Linked DNA regions of Homo sapiens: regions 2 and 3 are each linked to region 1. The links are contacts of gene promoters, found by promoter capture Hi-C in blood cells and fetal thymus (Javierre and others, 2016). All regions are on one chromosome and are shown on one strand. The core of a region is centred on a gene start or on the middle of the fragment in contact, and the rest is flanking DNA. Distances in the headings are between cores, read along the strand shown. Region 1 holds the start of CMKLR1 (chemerin chemokine-like receptor 1). Region 2 has its middle 73 kb from the start of CMKLR1. Region 3 overlaps LINC01498 (long intergenic non-protein coding RNA 1498).

The links. The method cuts DNA at HindIII sites, captures the fragments that hold promoters and counts their contacts. A CHiCAGO score of 5 or more calls a contact.
Region 2: a contact is called between a fragment that was not itself captured here and the fragment with the promoter of CMKLR1 in region 1, in 1 of 17 cell types (monocytes). The highest score is 6.1, in monocytes.
Region 3: a fragment that was not itself captured here is called in contact with the fragment with the promoter of CMKLR1 in region 1 in 3 of 17 cell types (M0 macrophages, M1 macrophages and M2 macrophages); the score reaches 6.1 in M0 macrophages.

The regions. Positions count from the first base shown.
Region 1 is chr12:108,337,923-108,340,649 of GRCh38, forward strand. CMKLR1 (chemerin chemokine-like receptor 1) reads right to left here and starts at 1,389. Exons shown (of 4, transcript NM_001142343.2): 1 at 1,105-1,389. RefSeq lists an enhancer at 822-1,445 and a silencer at 1,553-1,672. The HindIII fragment of the contact is 6,306 bases long and covers 1-2,727 here.
Region 2 is chr12:108,265,148-108,267,863 of GRCh38, forward strand. No RefSeq gene overlaps it. Among named protein-coding and RNA genes, the nearest start is that of CMKLR1, 73 kb to the right of the region's middle. The HindIII fragment of the contact is 1,319 bases long and covers 705-2,023 here.
Region 3 is chr12:108,459,233-108,461,932 of GRCh38, forward strand. It overlaps LINC01498 (long intergenic non-protein coding RNA 1498), which reads right to left. Exons shown (of 4, transcript NR_120483.1): 3 at 2,398-2,462; 4 at 193-352. Among named protein-coding and RNA genes, the nearest start is that of LINC01498, 13 kb to the right of the region's middle. The HindIII fragment of the contact is 1,901 bases long and covers 403-2,303 here.

The sequences.
Region 1 (2,727 bases), core at 139-2,638:
TACAGCAAGAACCACAGAGAAGATTGGTCTTGAGAAGGAGGTAGGGGATGCAAAAGGGAAGTTGAGGGCTTTCCCTAATAGAAAAAGAAAGACTCAGAACCTGGACGTTCAGGCGTGTGACCTCAGACCAGTGATCTGGCATCTCTGAACCGCACAGGTCTGAGTGATTGGGCTTATATCAAGTAGTAGTTCCCTGATGTTGTAATGCTTATAATTTTGCCAAAGCTGGCTTGCCCATTTAAAATGGGCTATTCTGAAGACAGAGGAGGGAGTGGAATATTTTCAACAGAGAGTGCCGGCAAAGGTTTTGTGTCCTTTATATACAAAGAACCCTTAGATATCAATTGGAAAAAGATAAACATGCCCCCAGAGGAGAAAAAAATGGGAACAGACTTGAACAGGAGAGTCAGACTAGAAATGTGAAAAATAAGTTTATAAAAGAGAATCAACACTAACAAAGAAATGAAATGCCTATTGAAGCATCTAGATATTATTCTCGACTTCACATCAGGGAAAGTTTAAGGGATGGGTAGCAACAAGGTGGGTTTAGTATGTGAGAATACTGTGCCCTGGTATAACATCGTAGAGAGGTCAAGCTGCCACGGCCTTCCAGGGTGCAGTGTGACCAAAAGCTCAGAAGTCTTAAAAATAGGCAAACCTTAAATCTAGCAATTTCTAAAAGGTATTCATAAGACACACACACAAAGATGTCATACTAAATATTCATTGCAGCACTGTTCTAATAAAAAAAAAGAAGCAAATCTATTATGGAAAAGTCAAATAATCTTAAGATAGCCTTTCTATGCAGCCATGAAAAATGTATATTGGAAGAATATAGGTGATATGGAAAAAAGTTCACAATCTGTGGTTAAGCAGGTTACCAAACTAGATGTGGAAATCCACATTCATATATTTAGTTGTGTATCCTTGCTATTTCTTTAAACAATGAACATGCATTACTTTTGACATCTGAAAATAATAACAAAACTCTTCCTTTTAACAAATATGAAATTATAAAAAGAAACAAACTTTTCTCTCTGTTAGTATTCATTCCCCTTCCCTGGCCCCCCTCAGAAGACACCCAAGGCAAGTGTGTGATGATACCTTCCCTCTGGTCTCTGCCCGGAAGGTCTTCCTGAGGGTTCCCTGTGACTGCAGGCCACTCGAGGCTGTTGGGGAGACTTGCACACCCTGGCTTCTTTCTGCCAATCACAGGCTCCTCTGGCTGTGGCTGTTTGCCCAGAAAGCAGTTCATTCATTTGTTCATTCAAGATCCCCCTCTGAACCCCCAGAGCGCCGCAGCTGGAACACCCCTATCACCCGGAGGCTTCCCAGGGAGCCTGCTCTGTCCTGAGCTCCCTGCTGGCCGCCGGGGCTGCTTCCCTGAATGGGACTGGGACAGAACTCAGCCAGAGAAACAGCTGGAGGGAGGAGAGCAGGAGGGAGGGGCAGGAAACTGGGCTGACCTAGGGCGGGGGCGGCTAGCTGCGTGGAGAGGGGGCTGCGAGGGGAGGGTGCCCCTACCAGCCGGGGACTGGGCTTGTGGGTGGCGGCGGGGGCCCGCTGGGGACGACCCGCCCCTCTGGCAGCCTCTTGCAGCCGGGGAGCCGTGCCCACTGAGCGCAAACAGGGAGCACATCTGAGCACCCGGCTGCTGGGGGAAGTGCAAGCGCCTCTGCTCCCGGTGAGGGGCTCAAGCTCCACACTGACCGAGAGATTGGCTGCCTCTCACCCTGGGCCTTTGCAACGCTGTTCCTCCCACCTGGATGCTATTCCTGCCCTAATTCGTGGCCCGATGGTCTCCTACTGCCTCTTCAGGTCTCAGGTTGAAGGTCACCTCCCAGGGAAGCCTTCCCCAACCCTCGGGGGCTGCTGTGCCCCTCAGGGTCACCCCATCACCTCACTGATGCAGTGCTGTCCTTGCCTGTTAAGATGTCTCTCTCCTTGCACCGAGAACTCCTTGCACCAGGAACTCTGTAGGGAAAGAACTGTATTCTGTTCCCTGCCCTAACCAGGCGCTAAGTGCCTGGTTCATCGGCTGTGTGGTCACCATCATTAGTGGAATAATCAAAACAACCGACAGCCAGGCAGCGTGCTAGGCGATGCGTACTTACTCTTCACGGCAACCCTAGATAACAGGAATTATTACTACTCCAGTCTTACCAATAAGGAAACTGGGGTACAGAGAGATTAAGTCACTTGCTCAAGACCACACCGCCAGCAGCTGACAGAGCTGGGATTCCAACTATGTTGTCTGGCTCGGAGGCCCACCCTTGGCCTCCAGACTGAAGAAATAACAGAAGTGCCCATGTGGGCCCCTGTGCCAAGTGCTTCCATGGAGTAAGCCGTGTGAACCACCACCCACGTCGGGGGGGCATCACTTGCCCATTCTACACATGAGGATGCTAGGGCCACAGAGCAGAAGTCGTTTTGCCCAGGGCGCCAAGCTCATGCTGACCGAGCCATGGCTGGATCTGAGTCTGTCTGATTCCAAAGCCAAGACTGCCTACGACTGCCTAAAATAATATTTTTAGAAAGAAAAAGAAAAGGGAAGGGCAGGGGAGGGGAAGAGAGGGGAAGGGAGGAGAAGAAAGAAAGGAAGAAAAGGGAGGGCAGGGAGGAAGGTAATGGGGAGGAGGGGAAGGTGAAGGGAGAGGGAGATGGGGAGGGAGGGAGAGAAGGAGAGAAACCTGTGTTTTGGGCCTCAAAGTCTTGGGCAGGTGGAGG
Region 2 (2,716 bases), core at 114-2,613, 73 kb before region 1:
GAGTGAAATTGCTGGGTCAAAAATTAAGTGTAGGTTTAACTTTATTTTTTTTAAAAAAGAAACTGTTTCCCAAAGAGGCTGTACCATTTTGCATTCCCACCAGCTATGTATGAAAGTTCAGTTGCTTCACATTCTCACCAACACTTGTTATTGTCGGTTGGTTTTTTGTTTGTTTTGTTTTGTTTTGTTTCTTAGAGTCTCACTCTGTTGCCCAGACTGGAGTGCAGTGGTGTAGTCATAGCTCACTGCAGCCTTGAACTCCTGAACTCAAGTGATCCTCCCATCTCAGCCTCCCAAGTAGCTGAGACTATAAGGTTTATGCCACCATACTTGGCTAATTTTTTATTTTTACTTTTTGTGTAGAGACAGGGTCTTGCTATATTGCCTAGGCTAGTCTTGAACTCCTGGCCTCAAGTGATTCTCCCACCTAGTAGCTAGGATTACTGGCATGAGCTACCATGCCTAGCCATGGAATTGTCAGTCTTTCTACTTTCAGATATTCTAGTGGGTTTGAGTGACATTTCATTGTGGTTTGTATTTGCATCTCTCTGATAAGGAATGATACAGCACATCTTTACACATGTTTACTTACTATCTCTATATTTTCTTTAGTGCAGTGTCTGTTCAAATATTCTGCCTGTTTTTTAATTTGGTTGTTTGTCTTATTAATGAGTTGTAAGCATTATTTACATATTCTGATAACAAGCTTTACTGAATATACATATTTACATCAAGTCGATGGCTTCCCTTTTTATTTTCTTAACAGTATTTTTTGAAGGGCAAAAAATGTTCATTTTAACAAAGTTCAACTTCTCAATTTTTCTGTTTTAATTTGTGCTTTTTCTGGTCTATTTAAGAGATCTTTGTTTAAATTTCACATGCTCTTGTGAACCCAGGCATATCAAGGTCTCCTAATTGCCAGTGGCTTCCAAAGAACATTACTGTCCATTTCTCCCATCCTCTCCCATTCTCTCAATTCCCTTCTCCTTGGCATGGATTCATGCTTTGTATTTTCTGTCTCTCTACCCTACCTCATTCTTACCATCAAAACACATCTACCCTCTGCCTCATTCCCTCTCCCAGTTGGTGGACAGCTTGCTAATCTGTTTTAAACAGGGATAACTATTCATGTGCCTCTATTCTTAGTAACTTAGTTACCTTTCCAAGGAGACCTGCAGGTGGTAGCTCCTTACCCCAAGAGAACAGTGTTCATGAAAACATTTTTTCTCAGTCATTACAGCAGATTGCTGGGAACCATTTGGTTCTTCTCCTGATGCTAAAAGTACACCACACCGGTGGATGCCTCTGGGTGAGGCCAGAGGCTGTACTTGGGAATTGGCAGCAAATCAGTAGAAGGTGTATTGTTGACAAATTGGATTAAAGCTAGTAGCTTGTTGATTTCAGCTAATGGCTGTTGCTCCCTATGGCACTGGTTGTGTCTCTCAACTTGATTTCATAATGTGAGTGTTGTTTCTAACTCATTGGATGTGCTAGGAACACCTGACCACATTGCCTTTATTGTCGAACAACTTATAGTTTCCAAAACTGTTTTAGGTTCATACCTTTTTTGATTATTTCAAACATACTCAGAAGAGGTATTCTTGTTTTCATTCTGTACATGAGGAAAGTGAAAACAAGTGTGGGTTAAATAACTTGCCTGAGGTTGGACAGACAGACCTTGGTAATGCACCACTGACCTTTCTGTCTGCTCCTGATAATGATGTCCCTGAAAGCCAAAATTTATGGTGCATTTACTTTTTGCAGGCACTGTTTTAAGTGTTGTCCATGCTTTATCTTATTTGTATTGGCCAGCTATTGTCTTGATAACTCTGCATTGCAAACCATCCTAGGTCGGTGATTCAAAACAGCAATCATTTATTTTGCAGGTTTAAGTGTGTGCTACAACATGGCAGGGCCAGGCTGGACTTCAGGTCTTATGCTGCAGACTAAAGGTTGAGCTCCAATTTTTCCATGTAGGTTGGTTCTGGGGTTCAAGCTGAAGAAGCAGTTACTACCTGGGGGAAGCTTTGCTCATGACAATGACAAAAGCACAGGAGAGAATTTCTAAGCACATTTGTAGCCTCTGCTTGTAACACATCTGCTAATATCCCATTAGCTAAACAAGTCACATGGCAAACCCAAAATCAAGGAATGGGGAAATATACCCTGACTCCAGCAGAATGAACTGCCATGTCATATGGCATGAAAACAAGTAGGGATGAAGAATTAGAGCCAGTAATTCAACCTACCATGCCACTTAATCCCAACAACTCTAGGAGTTAGACACTTTTATTTTTCTTATTTTACTGAAGAGGAAACAGAGGCTGTGTCAAGAAGGTAGTAGTGAGAGGGGGTGGAGTGACACTGAGACGTGCTAACCCCAGACTCCAGCTCTTAACCACTTATCCATTTCCCGATGAAACAGTGCTCTACAGAGAGGAAAATTAAGCAACAGATTTGTCCTCCATGGGCTGTGTGATAGACATACCGTGTCTACTGTGTCAAGGGCTTTATCCGTGGTCCTGAAATACCCTTTATGCCTAGGCACCATTGTTTCCTTTGGGATGCTTATAATTTCAATCTATCCCTTCTGGAGATTCTAATTCAGGTGAAGAAAGAGAAAGACATGAACAAAAGTAAGACACATAAATGCATACAGGCTGATGGTTTTCTGAAAAGACTGACTAGGTGAAGATAGGCTGTTATTTGGACAAAC
Region 3 (2,700 bases), core at 103-2,602, 120 kb after region 1:
ATCCCTTCTGCCACCATCTGGTCCTCAATCCTCAACTCCAGCAAGCAAATGCTTGGATGAGAATGCACACCCTGTCTCCCAAGAGCAAACAAGTGCGTTCAGGCCTGGGGCAGCCAAACTCTAAGTTTAGAAACAGATTTTGCTCCAACCCTGCAGGGGCATGTTCTACCAACAAACACAGTTTGCTTTAGGTTCCCTTTAGAATACTTAACTGCTCCATCTGCAGCTTCAGTATTTGAGCTTTCAGGGCATCCCCAAGAACCGTGGATAGTTATTTTGCTTATTTTCTTCTCACCAAGTGCTCACACCCAGAATCAAGGGATGGTCCTGCTCAAAGGTAAACTCCAGTCCCCTTCCCAGAAAACAGAAAATACATGTAACATTTTAAATGAGGGTTTTACAAGCTTTGGGGGAAAAACGTAGAAGCAGATTCTACTCCAGGAACCCTACTAAATATGCATTTATAATTTTGCATTCATTTAACAATATTTACCAAGCATCTGCTACATGCCAGACCTTCTTCAAGGTGCTGAGGACACAAGGGTAGGTAAAGCAAGCCAGGACACTGCAGACAGTCCCCAGCTTATGATGCTTTGATTTTTTCATTTTATGATGGTGAGAAAGCAATAGGCATTCAGTACATTCCTTGATTCACAATGGGGTCACATCCATATTGTAAATTGAGGAGCATCTGTATAGGGATTAGATTCTAGTGTGCATACGCATAGAAAAAAAGGCAAGAGAATATTTTTAAAGTGATAATGGTTATCCCTGAGGATGGCAATAATAGAGATCTTAATTGTTTTTTATGTTTTGCGTTGTTTGAAATTTTTCCAACTGGAAAAAAACTCACAGTATAGATGAATATTTATAGTTATGGGACTATACTCACAAGATATTGCTAAGTGAAAAGAACTGGCTACAGAAGAATATACAAAGTATATTTTTTGTAAATATATATTTACACTGTGTGTGTATCTGTTGCGATGAGTCATCTTGACTAAAGGGATTATGGAGGAATGTGCTGTTCAATTTTCTGTGTCTTTCTGCGTTTTGCAAGTGGTATGAATTGAACACTTATCGCTTTTATAAAAAGGGGGAAAATGGGTCGGGCATGGTGGCTCACACCTGTAATCCCAGCACTCTGGGGGGCCAAACTGGGGAGATCGCTTGAGCCCAGAAGTTCAAGACCAGCCTGGGCAACATGGTGAGACCCTGTCTCTACAAAAAAATACAAAAAAAAAAAAAAATAGCCAGGCATGATGGTGCACATCTGTGGTCCCAGCTACCTGGGAGGCTGAGGTGGGAGGATGACCTGAGCCCGGGAGGTCAAGCCTACAGTAAACCCTGATCATACCACTGCACTCCAGCCTGGGTGACAGAGTGAGACTCTGTCTCCAAAAAAAAAAAAGTCGGGGGAGTGGAGGGTGGGGAATGTCATTTAGCAACAGGAACTTCAACCTATTCCTAAATTATTCTATCCCTAAATTATTCTATCCCTTGGTCTACCAAAATACCTGAAAATTCTCCGTTAGAGTCAGTCATTTGGCTAAACGTTTCCTTCCCAGAGGCTCCTGCTACACTACTTAAGAGGAATAACACACTGGTCTCTGTCACTTGCAAAATGGAAACGTGAACAGGGAATCTGAAAATGAACTGTCACTTTGGAAAGCGAGGAGTCTGCCTGGCTCAGCAAGACACGGACAGACAGGGAAGGGCATGGGGAGTCCCAGTGGCGCATAAGGACTCTCTGCTCTGAAAGTGAGGAGGAGGAGACTGAAGAAAAATCAGATGAGACATGGGATAAGAAGGACCTCCATGCATGCCCCTCTCCCAACACCCAGCACCCACTCTGCAGCCAAGGGGTCAGAGCTGTCGAAGAGTGATGAGCAACCTGTTTACTAAAAAGAAAGAAAAACCTACTTATAAGAGGTTTTTATCTTAGTGAGCCGCTCTGCCTGAGTCTACAGAAATTATCAAGGGTGACATCACTCTCCCCAGTCACAACCCCAGGACTTAACATCCCAGCAACACCCAAAGGACTCACCCACCCACCTCCCTGTCATTGCAGCAGCAGAACTGTCAACCCTAAAAATGAGGATGGTTACGTGAGGAAATATGACTATCACTCCTCTCCAAGCTGTCAGCTAGAATATGAGCCTGGACCTAGACTAGTTGCAGCAGGGACCATGTTTAACAAGGGGCACGGTTGACTGCTGGGACTGCTTTAATATTCAATCCAGACCTCTGATGATGAGTTATTCATTAATGACCAACTGCCTCAAGGCTCCTGTTTTATTGAAAGCTTTACAAACCATCCAAGAAATGAGATATTGAGCTAAACATTTCATTCTTCCTCATTTCATCATTCATCCAACATTTTTTGCAAATACTTACCAGGGGCTAGGGACTGGGGGGTCCAGGTATAAGATTCTTTTGGGCTTGAACATATCTGAGGACACCTTGAATTTTTATAAAAATGTGTATTAGATTTTCTTAATTATGGAAGTAACGCATGCATTGCAATATGCTAAACAACAAAGTAAAGTAAAAAATCAATAATCTCTCCCACTCCATTCTAACTCCAACCCCTTGTAGTTAGCAATGTTAATAGATTGTTGTAGAGTTCCCTTCTCTATGCTTTTTTAAAAAAATGTTCATCTATTTATTTATTTTGAGACTTGATTATGAAACTGGTTA